Linked DNA regions of Homo sapiens: region 1 is linked to region 2. The links are contacts of gene promoters, found by promoter capture Hi-C in blood cells and fetal thymus (Javierre and others, 2016). All regions are on one chromosome and are shown on one strand. The core of a region is centred on a gene start or on the middle of the fragment in contact, and the rest is flanking DNA. Distances in the headings are between cores, read along the strand shown. Region 1 has its middle 40 kb from the start of MRPL36. Region 2 holds the start of SLC6A18 (solute carrier family 6 member 18).

Region 1 (6,410 bases), core at 3,035-5,534, 540 kb after region 2:
CGTTCAGCCGGAAGACGCCTCAGTGCTCAGGCAGCCCATCGCCTTCCTCTACAATGTTTAATTTGCATTTCGTGCCTTGGGTCTTAGATCCCAAGTCACTTCCTCAGAGCTTTGAATGCCCAACTTAATTAGCTCCTTTTCCTGCTTGATCCAAATCAAACTGGAAGACCGAGTAAGTGCATACGGTTCCTTTCCACTCAACATTTCTCCAAATGTGAGAAAATATAAGTTAAAAATAATAAATCCTGGCCGGGCGCAGTGGCTCATTCCTGTAATCCCAGCACTTTGGGAGGCCAAGGCAGGCAGATTGCCTGAGCTCAGGAGATCGCGACCAGCCTGGGCAACATGGTGAAACCCTGTCTCTATTAAAATACAAAAAATTAGCCTTGCGTGGTGTTGTGTGCCTGTAATCCCAGCTACTCGGGAGGCTGAGGCAGGAGAATTGCTTGAACCCGGGAGGCAGAGGTTGCAGTGAGCTGAGATGATGCCATTGCACTCCAGCCTGGGCGACAGAATGAGACTCCATCTCAAATAATAATAATAATAATAATAATAATAAATCCTTAGGAACATTGGAAATCAGTGTCCAGGAGTTGTGACACATTCGTGAGAAATGAAGACAGAATCCGACTGAGCTGAAGAGAGAAGACTGCAGCCCAAAATATGGGAGAAAGAAGCCCCGGGGAAGGTTGAAGCCAATCAGGAGACTGGAGGCGCGCTGGAAGAACGGAGCCAATCGAAGCCCAGTTCCCATCGCGAGCAATGAGACGGGGTGTTTCCACCAGGCAGAAGCGGGGAAATGCTGTCCAGAGCTCACCACCTGTCTCCAGAAGACCATGGGGTGAGCAGAGGGGCTCAGGGAGAAAGAGCTGCGTGGAGTTCCTGAAACACTTACTAGAGACTCAGAGGCAATTAAATGTACGGATGGGTAGCAAAGCTGGTAGTCCCCAGGAGGGGAGGAAATGGAAGCTCCACTGCAAGGTTCAGCTCTCACTGTGGCTGAGCCCGAAGCTACGGGACCCCTGCCTGGCCCCTGCCCAGCTGCCCCGGGTCCAGCCTCTCCTGGCTAACTGGCCCATGCCAGCAGTCTCTTCTGGTCCAGAGTCACAAGAGGTTAGTAAAGTAGATCCACATAAATGCAGATGCCACAGCAGCCAGGGCGGCCGATCGACTTAGTCCTGTGTTCCACAGCGTAAGCATCAGGGCCTCCAAATACTTGGATCAGCCCCACCCCCCGGCACACATGAGAAGCAACGGGGTAAGCAAGCACAGCAGATGGCTCTGGGAAACAGAAGTGATATGGAGACCCAGAAACATTATTGCAAATTTTTTTTTTTTTGAGACGGAGTCTCGCTCTTTCACCCAGGCTGGAGTGCAGTGGTGCGATCTCGGTTCACTGCAACCTCTGCCTCCTGGGTTCAAGCGATTCTCCTGCCTCAGCCTCCCGAGTAGCTGGGACTATGGGCACGTCCCACCACGCCCAGCTAAGTTTTTTTTTTTTTTGTATTTTTAGTAGAGACAGGGTTTCACCATGTTGGCCAGGCTGGTCTCGATCTCCTGACCTCGTGATCCACCCACCTCTGCCTCCCAAAGTGCTGGGATTACAGGTGTGAGCCACCATGCCCAGCCCATTATTGCAAAATGTTAATTCGTATCAGAAGTGATATCCAAGAGTCTAATGCATTCATAAGATTAAACAGATGGGCCCCTCCAAAAACAAAGATGAAAATACTATCAGAAATTAAAAATCTGAACATCTCCAGCAAAAAATGCAAGAACAAGTCAAGTCAGCAGCATGAACATGGCTGAAGTCCAGATTAATGAACTGGAAGTTATGATCAAAGAAATCTCTCAGAATGCAGAGAGATAAGTAGACACTGATGTTCACTGTGTGTGTTTTACCACAATAAAGAAAATTCAGAGGAGATGACACTTACATGCAATCCAGGGTATCCAGTGTTTCTCTAGGATTTCCAGGAAAGAAAACAGAAAATTCTAGGAAGAATAACAGAGAATTAATAAAAGATCTCAGAGCTGATACGATACAAAGCACTGGCTTTGACTCAACAGGGGTAAAGGGGTTAAACGACACAATCAGGCCAGTCCCAGACCAGTAAGCTCTGAGTCTCTATTCTACCTGAGACTGAGAACACCAAAGACAAGAGAAAGCATTGCCATCTTCCAGAGAGAACAGACAGCTTACCTAGAAAGGAAGAAAACCACACATACATCAGACCCTCCTCATTGTGACACTGGGTACCAGGAAGAACAGTGAGCCTGTCCAGGGGCAATTTCGGTATCCATTAAAATTAAATCAGTCTCATCTTTTCCTGTTTTATTTCTAGGTAACTTCCTTAGAAATATACTTGCAAATGGACAAAAAAAAAAAAAAAAAAGAGAGAGATCTACAAGGCTGCTGTTTGAAGCTTTGTTTATGTGAGACAAAAACTAGCACACACATGGCTGTGAACAGGGAAAGTTACATCAGGTTTGCTGGGTTTGTACAATGGAGGGCCAGGCAGCCGTTTAAAAGAACAAAGTAGAACTGCACACACTGCTGGGGCGGGATCGTCATGACAGCCAATGAGCTACAGAGAAGTCAGGTCCCATCTAAAATATATTTTTACAAATATATTAATATTAATAAATATACTTAAATATATCCAAAATTTATATATATGTATATATACACACATATATGTGTATATATATATATATATATATATTTTTTTTTTTTTTTTTTTGAGACAAGGTCTCATTCTGCCACCTAGGCTAGAGTGCAGTGGTGTGATCTCGGCTCACTGCAACCTCCACCTCCCTGGTTCAAGCAATTCTCATGCTTCAGCCACCCAAGTAGCTGGGATTACAGGTGCCCTTCGATGCTTACTAAGGTCCCCTGTGGAGGTTTTGGGAAACGTCCTGCTGGTCTGAATTCTGCACACACTGAATGCTCAGGATGCCAGGGAGCCTGGTGGATGGGATTGGATGGGGCTTGAGGCAGGTGTTTGCTAACTCCAAGGGTTCCAAGGGTGGTCTCCCAAGCAAGTCCCATCAGGCCCTGTGACAAAGGCCCTGTGACAAAGCCTCAGTGGGCAGGAAGGGGCGGCCCCCTCTACTGTGGGGCTGGGGAGTGACCACCTGCTTTTGTAGATGGAATCACCTTGAGAGGTGGCCACACTCATCGTTCACTCATCGTCTGAGGCTGCGTTTGAACAAGAGCAGAGCTGAGCAGTGGAGACAGAGACTGTGTGGTCTGCGAGGTGGAAAGTACTTGCTCTCTGACCGTTTAGGAACAGGCCTGCTCGCCTGCCCAGGGCATCTGTGTCCTGTGGAAGCTACAGGTCACCTCCAACTCACGCCTCGGGTGCCGAGAGTCTCAGGGAGGAGCCTCCAGGACCCCAGGAGTGGAAACTTTTGCAAAGAAAAGTAACTTTATATTTCTATAAAAAGGATTATACAATATGATTTAATTATTCCAAGCCCGTGGTAAAGCCCACATTCTCAACACATTCTCCTGCTGCTGTCAGCCCATTCCAATGAGAGGGTGTTTATTTTGACAAATGCAGTGTCTTACTGAGAACTGTTAAAAATTAATATTAAGTTTAAATCTGAAAAGTGATTATTGCACGTGACTAGTAAATTCCACACTATTTGAACTCTTTAAGAGTCTCCTTTCTTTCCAAATACATTTTGCATCCAAAATGTGAACACAGTGTTAAGTCTTTACAAAATGGTTTAAAAAATATTGTTTTAAAAAGTCCATTCTTGCTTAGAGTTTGGCAGCAGAGCAAAATGAAATCCCATCCAAATGAAATGTTTTACCATGTTCAGTTCCATAATGAAAAGCTGGCAAAGTCAATGGGATGGGGAGGGGGTGGCAATCACATTTGGTTTAATTTATAACAAGAAATCCAATCCAACGCATTTTTAAATTCAGGAAATACTAAAATGCAGACTGTGAAGGCCAACTCCATGTGGAGTGCGCAGCCCATAATAGTCGGCTGATTTAAAACCTGACCAATATGAACTACCCAACTAACGAGACTTGAAAAACCAGTACAATTAATTAATAAAAGTAAATGTAATAGTTAGAAATGTACTGAAACAAAAAGGGAGCACTAAAAGTAAGTATTCTCAACAAGCTGCAAACGCGGTCCTCAGCAGGGCACACCCCGCTGGAGGCCCCTGAGTCCTCAGGGAGAAGGGCTGTGGCCTCCCGACAGGGACCCTGGCAGCCTCATGGGGGAGGATTTTGTTCATCGGTCCCCTTGCTCTCCCATTGTTTGCAAGCGAGGACTGAAGGAGAAATCCTCGTGACTTCTGTGGCCCAGGTTAGAGTTACACAGACTCACTGTGCTGAGACCGGAAAACCTGCTCTTTCCCTATAGGTTTCAACCACGCTCCTCCGACTGGGGTCTGGGTGAGGAGCGCCGGGCCAGGCCCCGGGGCGGGGAGAGGGGTTTGTGCTGCTGTCTCGGCTCAGGATCCAGCAGTGCCTCTGGGGCAGGTCCTGAGTTCCCAGATCCCGTCGGGGCTCTCCCAGGCAGCATGGACCCTGTGGTTCTGCACGTCACAGACTCTTTGGGGGCGTCCACAGCCCTTTGCGCTTGAGGCTGGTCTGATAGGCTTGGCAAGGGCAGGATCACACCGAGTTCACGCGGCAGCCCCAGTCACCTGGTTGCTCCATCTACAGACTTGATAACCGAGGGCCGGGTGGTCTCCTCCCAGGTTATCTGCTCGAGCCCCAGGCAATATCATGTGGCTCACTGCTCATGGTGTGGTCCCTGGGTGGCCACGTCTCTTCACCTGGAACCCGCCAAATCAGCCCATGCATTTCAACAAGGTCCACCTTCCACATCTGAAGCTCCCCCTCAGACTCCCCCGCTGGCTTCTTCTGCACCAGCCCTCGGAGGCAGTCGCTCCCAACCCCCAAAGCCTCCTGTGCACCCTGTGACCCTCAGAGTCAGAAACACCTCTCCACGTGGTGACCACTGCCCGACTCCCACCTGCCCACTGCACCTGCCATCCGTTTGTCTCGCCGGCCATGCAGGCGGAGCTCAAAGTCTCCCCCATCGCCTGCTCTCCTGGAGGGGCACCTGGCCACAGCTGTGGTCACTTGTGTTCTCACAGTCGTCTTAGGTTCCAGAGGCAATGGCTTTTAGTGTCAGAACCCATCAGATTAAGGAATGAGGTGTATTAGATATTTTTAAAAATTAACACTGTTTTATTTTTTCTCAGCATAACATTTAAATGATCTAGAAGTTTACCAAGTAAAAGTGAGAGCCAATCCTCACACCCTCCGGCAAATCACCAGGTTCCCCAGAAGTGGCCTCCGGTAGCTCTTCTGTGTGCACTTTTTTTTTTTTTTGAGATAGAGTCTCCCTGTGTTGCCCAGACTGGAGTGCAGTGGCACGGTCTTGGCCCACTGCAACCTCCGCCTCCTGGGTTCAAGTGATTTCAGCTAACTTTTGTATTTTTAGTGGAGACAGGGTTTCACCATGTTGGCCAGGCTGGTCTCGAACTCCTGACCTCAGCTGATCCGCCTATCTCGGCCTCCCACTGTGCTAGGCTGACAGGCATGAGCCCCCGCACTCGGCCCCTGTGTGCATCTCCGTGTGTATGTGCTTGTGCAGGTGAAAATCTCTTTTTAAGTATGAATGGGATCTGACTGTTCTGTAGCTCACGTGTTTACCCTCTCAACACGCCTCCCACAGCAGCATGCACAGTTGTTTTGTCCTTTTAAATGGCTGCCTGACCCGCCATCGTATGGACTCAGCAACATTGGTGGAGCTTTCTCTATTCACGGCCAGGGTTCGGCACAGCAGTCGAGGGGAGCTGGAGCCACTGCGCTGAGTGGAGGAGGCAGAGGCAGAGGCAGGGGTGTTGCTGAAGCCCAGGGGTCCCTGTCGGAGGCTGGACACAGGCAGAGCTGGCTCTGCTGGTGACAGTGGCTCCTGTGTAGAGGTCTGTCCCCGCAGAGGGCCGTGAACTAAGGGGAGGAGAGGACTGGCCTCGTGTGTATTTTCCAAGCAACCTTCTCCCAGTCAGGATGTGTAAAAGCAATGCCCGGTTTCCTTACCCGTTCACCACACCGATCATCTCCGCATGGCAGATGGTGTGTGCAGCCGACTGTCAGCTCTGCCCAAGCTTTCGTGACTGCCCCCCACTCCTGACAGTCAGCACGTAGCATGGAGGGGCACAGATTTCCAACTGACCAGCTTCCCTATCAGGGAGATGGGCTCTGATCCGGGATTTGGCTGGGCCCAGGGAAAGGAAATGGGAGTGGTCACAAACCAGGGTCACACCCTGGCCTGGCAAGGTCGGCAAAGCCAGCCAGTGACCGTGCCCAAAAGATGAGGACAGTTTAAGTCTCAAATATAGACTTGAAGTCAGAGATTTTCAGCCCTAGG
Region 2 (7,221 bases), core at 495-2,994:
CAGGTCACCTCCGCTTTGCATGGAAGAATCTGGATGCTTACATTAAACTGGTGTTCTGAGAGTTCCTACGGACAGGTCACCTCTGCTTTCCATAGAAGAATCTGGACGCTTACATTAAACTGATGTTCTGAGAATTCCTACAGGCAGGACTGAAAGCCTGGTGTGTGCCAGTATGATGTTCCACCCACAGAAACCTGGTCACAATCGTCCCTTCCAGCACCCCATCCAGCAGTGACTGCACACACTGAGTCCCCTACCAGCCCCTTTCACCCTGCTGACTGTCACTGGGCCCTGGGATGCGCAAGACTCCACAGCAGCAGAGGTGGGGGGACATATCACAGCCTCTGCCCCCGGCTGTGATGCCACCGAGGGGCTCGCCTGCTGATGGCTTCAACAGGGTCTCACCTCATCTTTTCCTGCTCTTTGGCCCTGGATCGAGAAAATTTCCATCAGTGCCCCATTAATATGCTGCCCTGTGGCATCTGCCCAGGAGGCCCTGCCAGGCGTGCACAGGTGTGCATTGGTGTACCCTGGCATGCACAGGTGTGCACTGATGTGCCCTGGCATCCATTGGTGTACCCTGGTGTGCCTGCCATAGGACCCTGGGCGGGAGCTCCCATCTCATCTACATCTCCTGATTCATGCGTTGTTTCATAGGTTTCAATGTCTCTGTAAATGTGGTAGAAATGCAGGCTTTATGGGCATAAAGTGTACATTTCTAAATAAATCCCTTCTATTGAGTATGCTCACCCTAGAAGTTACTGTTGTCCAGACGTAGAGGGATGAGTGAGCCAGTGACCTCAGACGGGATGGTGGGGACGGCAGGTCCAGCTCCTGCCTCCTCCTGGGGGGTCTGGCTTTGGGGGCTTGCTCCGAAGAGGCCATGGCCCAGGCCTGTGGCCTCACAATGGGGACCAACCAGCTCTTCTCATCTTCTTCCCTCACACTTCCTCTCACTCAAATAAGAACCTTCCAAAAATGTGTCCACCTGGGCCCCTGCCCTGGGACTCATGGATTTGGAGTTGTGGCCACACGGTTGAGGGGTGCAGTGTCCAGTGGAATGGGGCAATTGCGGGCCTGGGGGCCCTTGGCCTGTCCGTGGCGGGAGCATCTGCAAGGAGGAGCCCCAGAGTCCAGGGAGCACTGTGGGGAGCTCCTTAGAGCTGAACTCACCCGGCGTCAACTCATCAACCCTCCACCCATGGACAGGGGTGCCCCCAGCACAGGAGAGGACTCAGCCCTCTGCCCCCACGCACGGTGGGTGCCTGTCACCCTGTCCTGCCCAGCGGCCCGAGGGCAGCAGTGGGTGTGAGGGCAGCCCCCGGCCTCCCAAGAGCAGCTGAGAGGATCCCTGCGGGAATCCGGGCTTCGGGTGCATGCGATCTGATCTGAGTTGTTTCTGACAGTGACAGAGTGACAATCTATAAGTATCTCAAGATCAAATGGTTAAATAAAACATAAGAAATTTAAAACGATTAAAATATGCCTCAGTCTTGGGAATCCTGGTGTCTGCAACAAAAAAACTTGAGGCTGTCCTTGCAAACGGTCCTCATGGTGCTGGGGGTGGTGCCAGGCCCGGCGTTTGCCTGGAACACAGAGCATGCGAGAAGGAGCAGAGGACGTGGGTGCCAGGGAAGGACCCTGGCGTCAGAGCCAGGGCCTGGACCTGAGTTACCCATTAACGGCACTCCACTGGTTTTCCTTTAAAGAAATGAATAAATACAACTGCAGTGGGGCTGCTTGTGGTTTCCAAACGTCGGCAGAGGCTGGAGACGGCTCTCTAGTGCTGGGTGTGGAGTGAGGCACCACCCTTGCCCTGAAGCCTGGGGCACTCAGTCACCATGGCTCATGCCCCAGAACCGGACCCGGCCGCCTGCGACCTCGGGGATGAGAGGCCCAAGTGGGACAACAAGGCCCAGTACCTCCTGAGCTGCACTGGGTTTGCCGTGGGACTGGGGAACATTTGGCGGTTCCCATACCTGTGCCAGACCTATGGAGGAGGTAAGCACCCACCTGCGTCCTGGGGCAGACCCCTAAGCAGGGGAGGCCGTCTCCACCCTGACCTGCCAGGCGCCTGCCACGCATCCCCAGTGCTTGGGCAGAGTCACTCCTCCTGGAAACCAGGGTGCACCATTGCCCACGGCAGAGTCAGTCCCCTCAGGGCCCACCTGCAGTCTTCTGGGACCTCAGGGCAGCTTCACCACTGCCCACAGCACGGAGGATCCAGTCCCCTCGGGGTCCACTATGGTCTTCCGGGACCTCAGGGCAGCTTCCTGCCAGGCGTCAGGTTGAATGGGCCGCCCTGCCCGACACACACACCCTACAAACAGTGAGCGCTCTTCCATCTGAATGTCGTCAGTTCTTTAAAGAACACACAATCCGCTCTGGGTTTCCTCACCACAGCCTTGGTGTGTCCAGACATGTGCTCAGGTGCCCTTCTCCGAGGTTCTTTGCAGGAATTTGGGGGCCCACCCCTCGCCTCCCTGGCTTTGGTTCTCTGGGAGAGCCCTGTGGGGGGTGCCAGGATGTTCAGAACTGTCTGGGTGACTTTAGTGACCTTGGACTCACCACCCCCAGAAGTGCATTGGTGACTGAAATAGGCTCCCACGCACCTCGAGCCTCCCCTCACCCTGTGCCTGCTTCTCTTCATGCAGGGGTCACACTCTGCTCTCCATGTGGCGACACAGGATGTAGGGACAGGCATGAATCACTGCTCTCAGGGAGCCGACGTACAACATCACGCATGGACACCCAGGTCTTCCCCAGGCAACACGGGCAGGGGCTTCCCAGGCCGCAGGGTCCTCCTCAGGCCAGGCCGGGCTGCTTGGTCAGCCTGTTCCCCGGGCCCTCAGCTCCTTCCCTGAGAGCCCCGCACAACTATCCCTTGTTATAAGGTTACTCCTTTAAAGTGTTTTTCCTCCTGCTTAAGAAAAGATTCTCAACAGGCAGAAAATGCAGGAAATGCGCACAAATGGAAAAAACAAAAAGAAACACCCGTCACTGCCACCCTCGGGGCACTGGGGTCTCTTTGGGGCTTTGGGGCTGGAGAGGGTGCATTGGGCCTTGGATCTTCTCATCATGAGAGTCCCTTTGAAGGCATTTCTGAAAGCACCAAAGCCCAAGGGCAGAGGCGTCCCTGGCTCCCGGGGCCCTCGCTGCCTGTGCTGCGGCTCGATCTGCTAAGAGTCACCAGAGCATGCAAGGTTGTGGGGGCAGCAGGCTTCACGCAGAGCTGGAAATGCCGGCCAACGCTTTACCCACCAACGCCTTGTTCGCCAATGCCTTGCCCACCGATGCCTTTCCTGCTGATGCCTTGCCCAACGCCTTGCCCACCGACGCCTTGCCCACCGATGCCTTGCCCACCGATGCCTTGCCCGCCGACGCGCCCAACGCCTTGCCCGCCGACGCCTTGCCCGCCGACACCTTGCCCGCCGACCCCTTGCCCGCCGACGCCTTGCCCGCCGACGCCTTGCCCGCCGACGCCTTGCCCGTCGATGCCTTGCCCGCCGATGACTTGCCCGCCGATGCCTTGCCCGCCGATGCCTTGCCCACCGAAACCCAGTTACCATTGCTAAGCGCCTGCAGTGTACTGGAAGTGTCTGGCACTAGCCTCCCTTAAACTCAGCTGCTCCACGCTGGGGCAAAGCTGGGGAGGCCCCCACCTGGGGTGCTGCTGAGGAGGGAGAACAGCCCTGCCCGCCAGCTGCGCGGGGACTTCAGGGCTGCTCCACTCATGAACGACTCTACCATCAATCTCCTGATGCAAGCCACCGGGTTGCATGTCATGAAACATCCAAGTTTATTTAACTCACACACTTCCTAAGGGCCGTGCCATCAGCATTCTCACCCTGTGTGTGAACATGCCCTTCACTTTGTCTCGCTGTGAGGATCACTCATTGATGATTTTGAAAACAAGATATAATTAAGAAGCAGGTACTGTGTAGCTTTTAACATTTGCATATACTCATGACTACCAAAGGCGAATATTATTTGCTCTCCCATTCATAAGTATTCAACTACATAAATGTTCTCTTCAAAGCTAAGACTTGTAAAGCAACATTGTAACAGAATGTAGCAAAACGTTGCGGTAAAGATTTACAGTGATTTTCTCACACCTATGACATTTCATGGCAGCTGCTTTATTACACATTCAGCGTCTTTAAATCAAAGGAACGTAGACTCGTAAATGCCAAGCGATGGGTTCAGGCCAGCTGCCCGGGACACTCTAACACTTGCTGTGGTTTAAGGTTTCAACCCAGGAAGCTTTTATGACTAAGCTGGTGGCCCTGGGCTGGCTGTGTCCACACACGTGAGGTCACTCATCAAGCGCGCCCCCTCCCCGCTACTTCCTGCCTCCGGTGTTCAACCGACTTCTGTATCTGGTAGGTGCTGTTGAGATCTGTGGATTCTTGCACCAAAAACGACACTGTATTAATTACTATGGCTTCTTCGTTAGTCTCGACGCCTAGTAGTAGAGCAAGGCCTTTTTTTTTTATTCTTTGAACTTTTGCCAGCTGCTACTTTTCCTCTGAGCTTTACACCAGGTTGTCAATTTCCAGAAGAGATTCTTCGGCGCTCCCTTGGCCCTGTGCTGCTTTCTACACTGCCCGGGGGGAGTTTCCACCTTGACGGCCTTCACGCCTTGGAGGCAGTGCCCAGGCAGTGGGGGCTGGCACTGGAGCACCATCTGCCGTCTGCACCCTCGCGGCTCCCGGCTCGGTCTCCTTTCTGCCTTCCTGCGGGTCTCTCCATCATGACCCTGGGCGTGTCTCTGGTTGATTCTCAGCAATCCCTGGCTTTTGCCGCTGCTCTGAGCAGAGCCTGCTTCTCCTCTGCATTTGCTCAGTGGCTGCACTGCGGCCTCTGCATCTCTCAGCCTCGTGTGGTGGGGTGCAGGTTTCTCTCGATCCTGCGTGGATCGATTGTAACAGCAGCCAGCCGTTCACAGCCACCTTTCCCGTCTTCGGCAGACACCACTGCGTCCTCCATGCTTATGAACGACTGCTAAACTTCACGTAATTGTTAAAACTAGGAGCTGCAGCCTGGGCAACATGGCAAAACCCTGTCTCCATAAAAAATATAAAAATTAGCCGGGCGTGCTGGCGTCTACTTGTAGCCCTGGCTACCCAGGAGGCTGAGGTGGAAGGATGGCGTGAGCCTGGGAGGTCGAGGCTGGAGTGAGCCATGACTGTGCCACTGTACTCCAGCCTGGATGACAGAGAAAGATGCTGTCTCAAAACAAACACCCAAAAAGGAGTTGTGTAGACATTCTTACCATGTGGAATCAACGCTTCTTCTTCCTTCAAATTCGGAAAAAATGCATGGACTGACTGTCTCTTCCTGCGCATTCAACGTAAAGACTGCCCAGTGAGACCCGTGCCCACGCAGGCCGGGGAAAGTGCCCTCCGTGCTGGACTTGGGTTGGCCAACAGAGCCACCACCCCCAACCACAACACTCTGGTTGATTTTTTATCTACATTTATGCCCACGTGGCAGTCTACATACGGCTTTAATGCAGCCGCTGTACCACAGAGTCGACGTTCCTGTTTCGTGAAGATCCCAGCTGTGGCCACGATCTCGTATTCACAGAAAACCCTCTCATCTCCTCTCCCCTAAACACAGAAACCCTCAATTCACAGAAAACCCTCTCATCTCCTCTCCCCTAAACACAGAAACCCTCAATTCACAGAAAACCCTCTCATCTCCTCTCCCCTAAATACAGCAGATTCAGCTTCCCCAAATCAGTCACAGAGAGCTCACTTCTCCCCAAATCTTTCCCTTCGATGATCTTGTCAGGGTGGTCTCTGACAAACTGACCTCAGCCTGGTCACCTGAGGCCCCAGCCCAGGCTCAATGGCCCTCACCACAGAGCAAGGGTCAATGGGGCCCAGGGCACCTGCTGGCCTGGAGTCTGCAGTGCTCCCTGGACAGTGGATCCCATATCTGGAACCCGGAGCCCCTGCCCACCGCGACGTGGTGCCCACGCCACCCACATCTGTCCTCCACCCGGCCACTGTGCACCTGAGGCCTGAGTGTGGCCACGAAGCCACTACTGCGGGATGGGTGGCTGGTCACACACCAGCCTTGAGACCTCAGGTGCAGGCTGGAGGTCGGGGGGAAGAAGGCCTCCACGGTGCAGGCTGGGGGTGGGGGGAAGTGATGTTTTCACAGTGCAGGCTGAACAGGGGAAAGGTAAGAGGGGCTCTCACGGTACAGGCTGGAGATGGGGGAGGGGAGAGGGGCTCTCACAGCGCAGGCTAAAGGGAAGGGAAGGGAAGAAGGGCTCTCAGGTGCAGGCTGGAGGGGAGGGAAGAAGGGCTGTCACGGTGCAGGCTGGAGGGGAGGGAAGAAGGGCTATCATGGTGCAGGCTGGAGGTGGGGGAAGAAGAGCTCTCAGGTGCAGGCTGGAGGTGGGGGAGGGAAAAGGGGCTCTCACAGCACAGGCTGGAGGGGAGCGAAGAAGGGCTCTAACGGTACAGGCTGGAGGGGAGGGAAGAGGGGCTTTCACAGTGCAGGCTGGTCGTGGGGGAGGGAAGAGGGGCTCTCATAGCACAGGCTGGAGGTGGGGGAAGAGGGGCTCTCACGGTACAGGCTGGAGGTGGGGGAAGAGAGGCTGGCTTGGGGGTGTCCCCCCATTCACATGGGAGCCTGGCCCTGAGAAAGGCAGGTATGCTGACTCCCTGCCATGAGCTCCCTGGGGTGCCCTGGGTTTTGTTCCCTTTTGCTCCAGGCCCTGGCCACAGCTGTTCCCACCCTCCCAGGAGGCATCTTGGGGTGTCAGGTGCCTCCACCTGAGGCTGACCCCGTAGACCTCAGCTTCCCCTCTTCAATGCTTGTCTTTCTGCCGCTGTGTAAATGACACGGACAAGAGCCGTCCGGCCCCCACATGCTGGCCCTGGAGTCCTGTGCAGAAGCCAACAGGGGTGAGGGCTCACCTCCCACTCTAGGGCCTCCCTGTGCCCGTGGCAGTCGCAGAACATTCTCATGGTGACACAAACCCAGAGCAAGGCTGTGTTGATGACCTGGAAACGAGCTTCTAGAAGCCGGACCCTGCCTGGCAAAGTGGAGCTGATGGGAGATGCCAGGCGCGGAGACGCACGGCGGGGAAGAGTGTGGGCAGCCGGCACCCATGTAGGTCAGCGTCTTAGGGCAGAAGGCCTGAGGTCAGTGCCACCCCGCAGCCTGTCCCAGCACCTGTGCATGCAGGTGGGGAGGAGTCAA

Evidence for each region. Contacts are between HindIII fragments. The CHiCAGO score rates a contact against its expected background, and 5 or more counts as called.
Region 1: a contact is called between a fragment that was not itself captured here and the fragment with the promoter of SLC6A18 in region 2, in 1 of 17 cell types (neutrophils). The highest score is 5.3, in neutrophils.

The regions. Positions count from the first base shown.
Region 1 is chr5:1,756,590-1,762,999 of GRCh38, forward strand. No RefSeq gene overlaps it. Among named protein-coding and RNA genes, the nearest start is that of MRPL36, 40 kb to the right of the region's middle. The HindIII fragment of the contact is 3,721 bases long and covers 2,425-6,145 here.
Region 2 is chr5:1,223,637-1,230,857 of GRCh38, forward strand. It overlaps SLC6A18 (solute carrier family 6 member 18), which reads left to right and starts at 1,745. Exons shown (of 12, transcript NM_182632.3): 1 at 1,745-2,001. The coding sequence starts at 1,842. It overlaps SLC6A19 (solute carrier family 6 member 19), which reads left to right. Exons shown (of 12, transcript NM_001003841.3): 12 at 1-1,475. RefSeq lists an enhancer at 2,139-2,681. The HindIII fragment of the contact is 4,471 bases long and covers 1-4,261 here.